2 separate regions of the Homo sapiens genome follow, and region 2 is linked to region 1. Evidence: promoter capture Hi-C in human tissues and cell types (Jung and others, 2019). All regions are on one chromosome and are shown on one strand. The core of a region is centred on a gene start or on the middle of the fragment in contact, and the rest is flanking DNA. Distances in the headings are between cores, read along the strand shown.

Region 1 (5,485 bases), core at 1,309-3,808:
TTAACCTATTTAATACTGAGAGACGAGAGAGAAGGCGAGTTGCCCATTTCTCTATTTCTTCCCCTACACCCTAACCGCTCCCCAACTCCAGCCACCAAATCCCAGTATTGTGCGTAGCCCAGTTCTAAGTCTTGTCTGGCTATTAAGCTGCATGACGTTGGCTACCCTGAGCCTCAGTTTCCTTATCTGCAAACTCCAGGGGCAGAATTGGATGATGTCGAAGGTCCTTTCTACCTCTGAAATACACTGACTGGGGGAGAAGATGAAATGTCTCCTTTGTGAAAATCTAAACGTATTTATTACGTACCAAAAACCACAGCACGGCCGACTCCAGACTTGGGAAGTGTCTAGCAGTTGTCCACGTGTCGCCTGTCTTTTATTGCAATGGACCAGTGCAAGAAGTAGGAAGCTTGAGCAAGATCCAGTTTTAAAGATATCAGCCGAGTAACATTTAGAAAAATGGGCAGAACACAACAGCAGAGTAAGAAAGTAAAACTTGTCAACAAATTTGTATGGTTAAATGTGTGTGTGCGTAAGAGTCATGTTCACTCATATTTTATTTTTTAGGGATGATATTAGAACTGTATTTGGAGACAAAATGAGCCATGGGTCCTGGCTGAAATGCTAAACTGATACATAAACACCAAGGAGAGGAACTTGCTTCCTTCTAAGGGGTGTGGAAAGTTGGAGAATAAAAGAGCCTCGTGGGATAGGGGGCAGTGATGCCAAGTGCTATTTATGGGCTATTTATGGGCCACCAGAGATTGAACTGCCTGTGGGGAGAAGGATCCAGAAGGGACTCTGGGTAGCAGAAATATCTGAGATGGAGTTTTACCTTTTTTGATGTGGAGTGAGTGAAGAGAGCCTCCTCTTTTACTTTCCTTAAGAAATCTTCAGTCCAGTATACGTTATACATTAATTAAGTTGGTATTTTGAGTGTGTTGCTTTTCGGGGTATGTAGAAGAGAGGCTGAATTCTCATTTGGCTTGATGTTGGAATCAGGAACAGTCAACTTTGATACGGGGCACAAGAGCGGGCCATAGCTGATACCCTGGTTTCTCTGTCTGGGCCTGGCCTATCTTGTGGCTGGGTGCACACCTGCTTTATTTTTTACTTGAAATGTCTTCTTTTTCCACCTGTCCTACTCATGTCTTCAAAGCCTAATTTTCATTTTCCCTGATCACTCCACCTCCTCTCTGCCCTCATTCATTCATTAGTGACTACAGGCTGGAGATGCCAATTTCAGGGCTTCTGCCCTAAGCCCCCAAGGGAGCTGTGTGCTTCTTGAGTGCAGATACTTTGTTTCACTCTTCCCCACTCTACCCCCCAAACCAGAAGAACAGAGCTCCTGTTTCTTCCTTTCCATGGTAGGCCCAACACCTGGCTTTGTGCCTGGCACACAGCAGACATTCAACATTTGTAGAACTGATAGACTATTAGATTAGTAGTGACAAATACTCCCCGAAGAAAATGCTTATTTGAACATACATCCCAAATTTTCTGCCCTCCAGAAAATGCTTCCTTGGAAGGATTTAAGACAGTTTGATGTCTCTGCAAACATTATCTGCGTTTAGGGACCAACTTGCCCTTCTCAGCGTTCACCTGGGATGTCTTTATTCTTCCATTTAACCTTTACAGGGGACCCCGATGGTGACGTGTCCTTCCTAGGGGCCATTACCTCTCTCAGGGATCCTAGTGTCTGGTAGAAAACAACAGCTCCAAGTTCTCTGCATCCAAACTTCGCCAGGATACGCAGATAAACCTATTTAAAAAAAAAAATCTTTTTAAATTCTCAACTTGGTGGTGTAAATAAGGCCCTTGCAGCGCCCTCAAGTAATAATCAACGGCAGTCATTATGGAAGGAGGGTAGAGATGAGCGCCTTACTCAAAGCCAAGACATTCACAATTTCTCGGGCCGGCTGCCTGTGCCTGGGCGTGTGCACTGTGCACTCCGAAGCTGTGTGCGGCGGTGGCCTTGGAGGTGCGCGTGGCCTTAGGAATTCCCGCGGTCGGGCACCCTCCGCTTAACACCGGGCCGTGTCCCCGGCCTGGGAGCCGAGCAGCGCGGCTCTGGCATGCTAAGTGGGCAGCACTGGGGCGCCTTTGTTCCTCGCGGCCGTCTCCCAGGACCGGCTTCCCTCTGAATCTAAATGGGCTTCTCCCTCACCCGCTCCGCCCTGGCCTCCTGGCCTGGGCACGGCGCCCCTGGGTAAAGCGCGCCCGGACACCTGGGGCGTGGGCGTGCGGGGGCAGCCCGGGCTAGGCGAGCGCGGGAGAGGCGCCTGCGGTCCCAGCCCGGCCAGGCCCGAGCACCTGCGCGAGCCCGAGGGAGCGCCCGGCCCTCTGCCCCCGCCAGTCGCCGGCGCCCAACTTGGGGGTCCCGCCGTCCGCAGCCCCAAGTCTCGCGGTGCTACCGCTCTGACCGGGGAGCCGCGGGCCGGGCGCCCCCCGCCGCGCGACAAAGGCTGAACCGGGAGGAGGAGGCCGAGGAGGGGGAGGAGGAGGAGAGAAAGGCGGGGACGGCGAGCGGCCGCGGCGGCGGGGAGAGCGGAGGGAGCGCCGCCCGCCCGCGCCGTCCTTTGTGTGGCGGCGGCGGCGCCTGGGCCTGACCGGGTCCCCGGGGCTGAGCGCCGGGCTCCGCGCCGCCCCTCCCGCGCCCCTGCCAAGCGGGCGCCTATCCTCTCCGAGCAAGATGGCAACCCCGGCGGCGGTCAACCCTCCGGGTGAGTAGCGGCCTGGGCCCCGCCGCCCGCCGCAGCCCGCAGGCCTTGCCCGGGGCCGGAGCGGACCAGGCGCGCCGGGCGCCCCCGGGGGCGCGGAGCCGCAGCTCGGCGCGGTGGGTGGTGGAGCGGCTGTCACTACGCGGCAGCCGCAGCATCAGCACCAGAGCGGCATCTGCATCCCAATCGCTGCCCATCCGGTCCCGGGCAGGCGCCGGTCCGGACCCGCGGGCGGCCGGACGCTGGCCTCGCATCCTCGGGAACCCGAAGGGCAGGCCCGGGAGCCCCCGAAGTTCTGAAAATAACCGCCTTTGCCTTCCCCATCCCACGCATTTTTCTCTTCCGGTCCCGGCTTTTGTGGCATCACGGCGTCAGCCAGTCCTGGCTGGTGGAGGGCTCCGCGCTGACGGAGGGAAAAGTTTGGAGCTGGGATTCAACAGGGTACAACTCCCGGGACTCTCCCCTGCCCGCCCCGCCCACTAAGCGCTGGTCCTTTGCGCCCTTTGCGACTGGCTGCTGTGTGTCCTAACCCTCCGGGGGCACAAAACACCCAGCCTGTGGTCACCAGCGTGGAGCAGCCCTGGTCCTGCCCAGGTGACATCCTCTGCTTTCTGGTCTGACCTGTCCCCAGGGTGCAGTCTGTGACAACTGAGCTCATTAGGAAATATTTCAAAAATGGAAGAGTTCTTGATCAAGTGGCAACATTGACTTGTTTTGGTATTGTAGTAGGGAAGTTCCGTTTTCACTGGGAAAGTTCCCTACCTGATGAGCAGGGTGTGGGAGAAGAGAAACGTGAACATCTAAGCTAGTACAAACTTTTGGGTGTTGTGCAGAGGCTGCTGTGGGCACGGCAGGTTGCTGGGTCCCTGTGGAAGATGCAGGGAGAGTCACAGAGGGCGGCCCCCAGGAAATTCCCAGCAGAGGGAGGTCATGTGTTGGAGATAGGGAGGGTCGGGGGAGGAACAGCAATGCCTAGCAAAGAAAAGTGTCTCTCATCATAGAATTAGGAATGAAAGATCCCTTTCATCTAAGGCGGCCAGGGAAGGCTTCTGGAGATTGGACATTTCGGCTGAACCTTGAAAACGGGAATGTTTGAATATACAGAGCCAGTAGCAGAGGGGCATTGCAGGCGTAAGTAACAGTGGACTTGCTCTAAGCAAGTGCAGAGGTCAGTGAGTAGTTGGTGCACTGGGGATATAAGAGGCAGCAGTGGGATTTAACACTGAGTTGTTTGGATGTGACCAGGCTTTAAAGGACAGACTGAGGAGTATGGACTTTCTCTCTCCACATTAAGGGAGAGTCCTCTGCACACTTCCTAAGAACCAGAAAAATAAAATAAAATAGAAAAGAGAGAGAGAGACAGAGAGAGAGAGAGAGAGACCTCAATGGTATTGAACAAGGAAATCGCATGATCACTTTTTCTGGAAGACTGATTTGTCAGCTATGTCTAGGAAACATTCTAAGGAGGGAACAAGACTTGAGACAGGGAGGCCAGCATGAAATGAGGCAGGTGCTGGGGAGGCCAGAATTGGTGGCCATGGCTGGACCAGAGAGGAAGGAATGCACCACTGGGCGGGTAGAAGAGTTCCAGATTTGGCACTGATTAGATTTGGAGTAAGAGTAAAGGAGGAGGCCAAGGAGAGACAAAGGGGAGGTGTCCATGGAGACACCAAGGTGAAGAGCCTGTGTAATTCCAAGGAAGGCAGTTCCATCAGCAGAAATAGGGACTCTTGGAAGAACAGACAAGGAGGCCTCTGTCCAGAACACTGAGGAGGAACGTGGCTGGTCTGAAAACAAATCTGTGCCAGTTTGCCTGTGACTGAAGCTGCAATTTCAACCCATTCAACTACTTCAAAATCAATGGAAAATTGATAGATGTAAATGTTATGAAATTAGAAAAAGCAAAAGATGTTAAATGAAAACATTTTAGTCCAATATACACTGGGAACAGGAATAAAATCCCTGGTGATTTACATAATTTCTATGCCAGGACATCATTGTTTAAAACTTTTTTGTCCATTACATTGCTCCATGAGCTACATGGACTAAAGATCTAAAGATGGAGTAACTGCCCCTGGCCCCGTGGTGTGAAGCACAGGAAAGCCTGTGCCTGTGCCTTGGACTGCGGGAGACTTGAATGGTACAAGCATAGGGTATTGTTGGCGTTGCTAGTCAACACCTGGCCAGCTTGACAGATGCTTTTCTCTGTTGACAGCTATACCAGAGATCTTCAGCATGGTGATAATTTCTCAAGGGAAAATTCCTTGAGGTGATCACCTTTCCTTTTACCATCATTTCTTTTACTGGTCCCCTGAGGATGATCCGTGGGGATGTGTTATTATTGCCCCATGTGAATCTCCATCTTTTTCTTTGGGAGAAAGGGTTTAATTTTAAGGGACATGGCTCAGGGTTTGAGCCAAAGAGAGAGAGTTCAGATTCTATGGGCAATTTACAACAAAAAGAGCCATGGTACCCAAGCTTGTCACCCAGAGCCTACCTCACATGGGCTTGTGAGACTTCTTTGAATTCCTTTTTCTTCCTGCCTCCTTTCCCCAGATATGGTTGCTTTGCAAAGAATAAGAGCTTGGTAAACAGAACCAAATGGATGGGGAAGCACCAGGATTTATTTCTGCTGCTAGTTCGTGTCCAGGGTACAAAGGCCACAGCCAGTCACCTCCCCACGCCCCCACTTGTTCCTTTTTTCCCAGCTGACCACTTCACAACAGCAGAACCATTTACAATGACACTCTTCTGTGATGTGTAGT
Region 2 (5,440 bases), core at 2,072-4,571, 330 kb before region 1:
GCTGGAGTACAGTGGCACGATCTCGGCTAACTGCAGCCTCCAGCCCCCGGGTTCAAGTGATTCTCCTGCCTCAGCCTCCGGAGTAGCTGGGATTACAGGCGAGTGCCACCACGCCTGGCTAATTTTTGTATTTTAAGTAGAGACTGGGTTTCGCCATATTGGCCAGGCTGGTCTCGAACACCTGACCTCAGGTGATCCGCCCACTGTGGCCTCCCAAAGTGCTGGGATTATAGGCGTGAGCTACCGCGCTCAGCCGGTCTTGAACTTTAGAGCTCAAGTAATCTGTCTGCCTTGGCCTCTGAAAGTCTTGGGATTACAGGCGTGAGCCACCGTGCCCAGCCAATTTTTAAATTTCAATGTGACTACTAGGAAATAGAAAACCACATGTGGCTCTCATTATGTTTCTGTGAGACAGCACTGGTCTGACTCGACCATAAGTTTGTACAGTGGTAGGGACTATATCCATTTTATTTACTGTGGTATCTTCAGCGCATAACAGACGTTCAAAAGATTTGGTGAATGAATAAACTAACTCTGTTAACTTTTGAATGTTATTGCATAGTTTACAGAGAATGTTACCTATTCAGCTTTTGCTTTTCAGAATTGTTTTCTTTGTGACTGATTAAAATGGTTGAGAAAAGCTCTTTCAGTAACTATATAAAGAATGAGTCTTCGTCTTTTATGTAATATTTTATTTATTTTTTTCTGGTTTAGGCCTCCAAGGAGAGAGAGAATTTAAAGTTGGCCAGTCTATTTTCTCTTAGTTTTTCTATGTCTAGCACTTTTTCTTAGATGATCTATGATATGTTGTTTGGCACATGAAAATTTATGACTTAAAATCTTAATAGTTGAGTATTATAAATGCCTTCTCTTTTATTTTTGTCTCACTATTGTGATCCCTGTTTCTTTTTATTTTGCATTAATCAGTGACCTTGTTTATCCCTTGAGACCTAAAACAAAGCAATGTACTGTTTTTTTGTAGAAAGATACCTTATCCTATCGGCTTGGTTTATGCTTGCTTATTTGTATGTTTCCTTAATGTTTCCTTTGTGTTCAGTGTTTGACCTCATATGCCATTCATTCAAACTCCCCAACTCCTCATACACACCTTGTAATCTTTTCCCTAAGGAGTCAGGAGAGATACACCAGGAATTGCAGGCTCAAATATATCTTACTTTTGCCAGGGAAATATTTTTTTTATTTTTTGTTATTTATTTATTTATTTATTTATTTAGAGACAGAGTCTTACTCTATAGCCCAGGCTGGAGTGCAATGTCTGCTGCCCGGGTTCAAGCAATCCTCCTGCCTCAGTCTCCCAAGTAGCTGGGATTACAGGCACCTGCCACTGCACGAGGCTAATTTTTGTAGTTCTAGTAGAGACGGGGTTTCACCATCTTGGCCAGGCTGGTCTTGAACTCCTGACCTTGTGATCCACCTGCCTCTGCCTCCGAAAGTGCTGGGATTTACAGGCGTGAGCCACCACACCTGGCCATATTTTTTTATTTTTTATTCCCCATTGAGGTGTTTTTCAGAGTTTATCCTTAGTGATCCCAGTTATGTTTTGCTAATGTCAGGGTGGTCTTTTTATCAACTACTACAATAAACCACCAGTCGTGCCAGAGAAAATGCCCAGGATTAATTTCTTTTGTAGGAAGAGCAGTTTGAACTATATGGAATCCTTCAAAATTCTAAGAAAGTGTTTGCCCTGTTCTGTATATATTCTGCCAAAAGTTGTTCCTAATAGTCTAGATATTGATTCTTTATGTAAGTAGGGTCTTTTTAATCAAAAGTGAAGTGGGACCAAATTGTTCAGTGGCTTGTTCTCTTCTAAATTGTTTTTAGCTGATAAGATTTGGGAAACTTTCTGGGCTTCCACAAATAATATACAATACATCTTTGAATACTTGATGCTTAAAAAGTGTTGTTACTGCATGCAATCAGGGAGCTCCAGAGCTTTTTGCAGGCTCCTTGTTCCTGAGAAGCAATATTGTTTTCATATTATCTCGGTTATACATTTTATGGTTGTGACATTGCTTTCTTTTTGTTTTTGCTGTTGTTTTCTGCTGCTGCTGATTTAGAAATGAAATAAGCTAACTCTTAATTTTAACCTGTTTGCTACCTAAAATGGTAATCATCTTGATGTTCTTTCAAGCAGGTCCCAGAGATCTTAAAATGATCCGGAATCACTGAGTCCACAGTTCTCTTTTCTCTTGGTTATGTATAGATGGAGAGTGGTCTTGGTGTTATATTAGTGTATGATTCGTATTTGTTTCATAATTAACTTCGAAGTGAAAAATTGATGCGAGAGCAAAGGTTTATTTGGTTTCCATAACTATTTACTAATTTTATGCTTGCCAGATTTTAAGATTAAACTGTTTGCCATCTCTTTTTTTTTTCTTCCCGTAAAACCTTTGGCCATCTACAGTCACTTTTCCTCAAATCTTATGCTGTAATTCAAACTGTATATTCTTTTTGCTGATTGCTTCTGTACCTCCTCTGCTTCCAGTGTTCTTTTGCAAGAGTGTCCACACAGTGGGAAGAAAACCTGAACTTGACTCATGAAGTGCTGGGCATTCAAAACAGTGAATCCTTGCAAAGGATCTTGGGAGTAGACCCCTGTGAATTGGCTCTTTCAATTTGTCCACTTAAAGGGCATAATAGATTATGCAGCTGTTTGGGCTTCAGCAGGGTATTGCTCCATATTCATGCCTAGTTGCAATTATGTGAATTTTCAGTTTGTTACAAAGACTTCCCTTTGTATTCAAAACAATTTTGTTGGCTTTGTGTTCTAATATTTGAGTTTTCTCTGAGGAAAAATAGTTGCAAGATTTTGAACTTTGAAAACTTCAAATTAAAATGTTTAAAGGTTTTGTCACTTTTTATTTTCTGATGCAAACCATACATTGAAAGCATATTTTAAGAAGAAGTCACTCTAATAAGCTTTAATTTCGAGTTTATGAATCACAGGATTTTTGGTAGAGGTAAAAACTATACTTACACCGTAAATTAGACATTAAATGCCATTTAATCAGTCAGATAATGATTAATGTTAGAGTAATGTTTGATGGGCCAAGCTGCTAAAACATAAGCAGTTCTAATTAAAATATATAAACTTATCACGTAAAAATAGCAAACTTAGTAATGTATAAAGTGACAGTAGGTCTTTTTTGCTTAAAAATCAGAGTTCCTGTGTAGTGTCTCTTTATGATCTCTGTAGTAAAAATATTATTTAACGTAGCTTAGTGAGAAGTTTAAGAGGAGTATACCTTTTACTTTAGGGTGCCCATGCCACTTTGAAGTTATGGAGTGCAAAGTAGTTTCCACACATTAAAAAAAAAAAAAAGATGAAAAAGACTTAAACTTTTCTAAATTTTATACCTGAACATGTCATTAGAACATGTGCCTTTTGCTTTTAGATATCTGTTTGCCAATGGTTAAGCATTAACCTTGGCAAAATACTCACATGTCAGATCTGTTAAATGTAATAGTATTTCTGCCCAGTATTTTCTTCAGTTTTAAGTAGAAATATCAACCTTTGATGTCACTGAAATTTCTACTCTGTTGTGATACTGAGAACATAAATGTCAGTGAGTTTGATAGCTTAGAAGTGAATCTTTTGCATTCAGTATTTTAGTGCTGTATATTTTCACTTAAGTTATAGTTTTCTCTTTAAGTCTTAGAAAAAAACATTGGTTTGTTCCTCTTAGCAACATATTGTAATGGATTTTCTGTTGCCGTTTTACAATTTTCAGGTAAAATGTGAACTCTATTAAAAATAATCTGTCTTTAAAGCATAACTTCACCTTCATTGCTCCATAAAAATAAATGATTTAGATTAAAAGCATTGTATTTTAAACAATTGGTCACAGCTGCTTCTGTGAGATTTTCATTTTTGTTACTTAGTTTATTTTTCACCTAGACAAGGGTAAGCAAACAGTATATGATGGGAAAACTGAAACCTTATGTACTGTTTCTTTAAGAAACCAGCTTATCCAGGAGGTTTTAGTGTGTCTAACCTAACCTGCTAGCAAGGAAAAGTTCTTTAAAATAATGGATATTAGCCGTATCCAATCACAATTATCAGTTTCACTAACAGGGAGGAGATTTTACTCTTCAGCCACTAGAATTGGAGAAGGTGGAGCTTGGTATTCAGGTTTGGTTGCTTTGGAGTACAGCTTCAAGTGAAGTTAATCTGAGGTGAAGCAAACAGAAAATTGTGGAGGTTTTGTTGGTAGGATTTTTGTTCTAATCTTTTTATGATCCTTTATTTTATAATTTTGCTCCTTTATGATTCTGTGTGTGCTAGGTTTTGTCACTGTTTTTATTTTCTGATGCAAACTGAACACTAAAATTAAGCAGGGAAGCAGAACAAAAGGGCTCTTTGGACAGGAAATAGGTGTTCAGAGAATCAAACTTGACTTTCTCCTATCATTATTTTTAGTTCAGAATATGAGTGTCATTAAAACATCTTAGACTCAAAATCATCTCCAATAACAGGATTTTTTTTTGAATTGGTTGTTTGAACAGTCAGTTGTCAGTTTTTATAAATGACATCTTGAGGAGGTTCATTTGATATGTCATTTTCCTTAAACTTAAAATGTTAAGTTGCTGAAAGATAAATGTGATAGGCTTAAATACGTCTTTTTTAGTAAATTGAAATGCCAACTGTTTAATTTTTTTAACCCCAGCACAGCACCCCTTTTAATTTCAGTATATTTTAATTTAACAATATGTTGACATTTTTAATATGCTTATAATTTTTAATATGCTCATAATTAAAAAGGCCATTGATGAACAAAGTGAAACTGCTTTCTTCTTACTTCATTCAAACTCTTCATTTCTTTCAAAGGTGGAGATAAGTAATTAACATTTCGAAACAGGAAATGAAAGGATTTATATTTTTAAAAGCTATAGGTAGGCTACTACAACTTTTTTTTAAAGTATCTGATTCTATTTACATTTCTTATTTATGACGTAATTGTAGTGTATTTCAGTACAAGAATATTTTTTAGAGACTGTTTTCTTTATATTGTTGCTCTTTGTTCTCATAGAAATTAAGGTATAAATTGCAATAATCATTGCAATAATCAGACCAAAAGCCAGCTAAGCATTTTCAGCCATTGTATTTGCTATGCTACTTGTTCCGGATCATGCAAAGGTTTTTAAATTAATGCTTTTCTGCTATATCTGTTGTTTAAACAATAGTGTAATAATAATGAAATCAAGAAAAGTTACCTATCTACCCACCAGCAGATCATTGTTTGGTCATCTCATTTTTTTCCTGTTCCCTTCTCTGTCTTATATTCTTGCAGTTTTCCAATAATTATGAATCTGTGCAGTTTTATGTTTTCACTTAACTATCTGTTGAAATTGTTTTCATTTCAGTAACTATGTAATTCTCTTAAATTGATGTGACCTGAATTAACCTAGTTTTTTGAAT

What was found. The method cuts DNA at HindIII sites, captures the fragments that hold promoters and counts their contacts. A contact is called where the count stands out against the background at its distance.
Region 2: a contact is called between a fragment that was not itself captured here and the fragment with the promoter of ARNT2 in region 1, in 1 of the 25 tissues and cell types used here (hippocampus).

Annotation. Positions count from the first base shown.
Region 1 is chr15:80,401,824-80,407,308 of GRCh38, forward strand. ARNT2 (aryl hydrocarbon receptor nuclear translocator 2) reads left to right here and starts at 2,559. Exons shown (of 19, transcript NM_014862.4): 1 at 2,559-2,723. The coding sequence starts at 2,693. ARNT2-DT (ARNT2 divergent transcript) reads right to left here and starts at 2,373. Exons shown (of 6, transcript NR_184070.1): 1 at 2,168-2,373; 2 at 1,679-1,762. RefSeq lists an enhancer at 1,990-2,490. The HindIII fragment of the contact is 10,967 bases long and covers 1-5,485 here.
Region 2 is chr15:80,068,417-80,073,856 of GRCh38, forward strand. The region is part of intron 1 of ZFAND6 (zinc finger AN1-type containing 6); the gene reads left to right. Among named protein-coding and RNA genes, the nearest start is that of ZFAND6, 11 kb to the left of the region's middle. The HindIII fragment of the contact is 4,965 bases long and covers 840-5,440 here.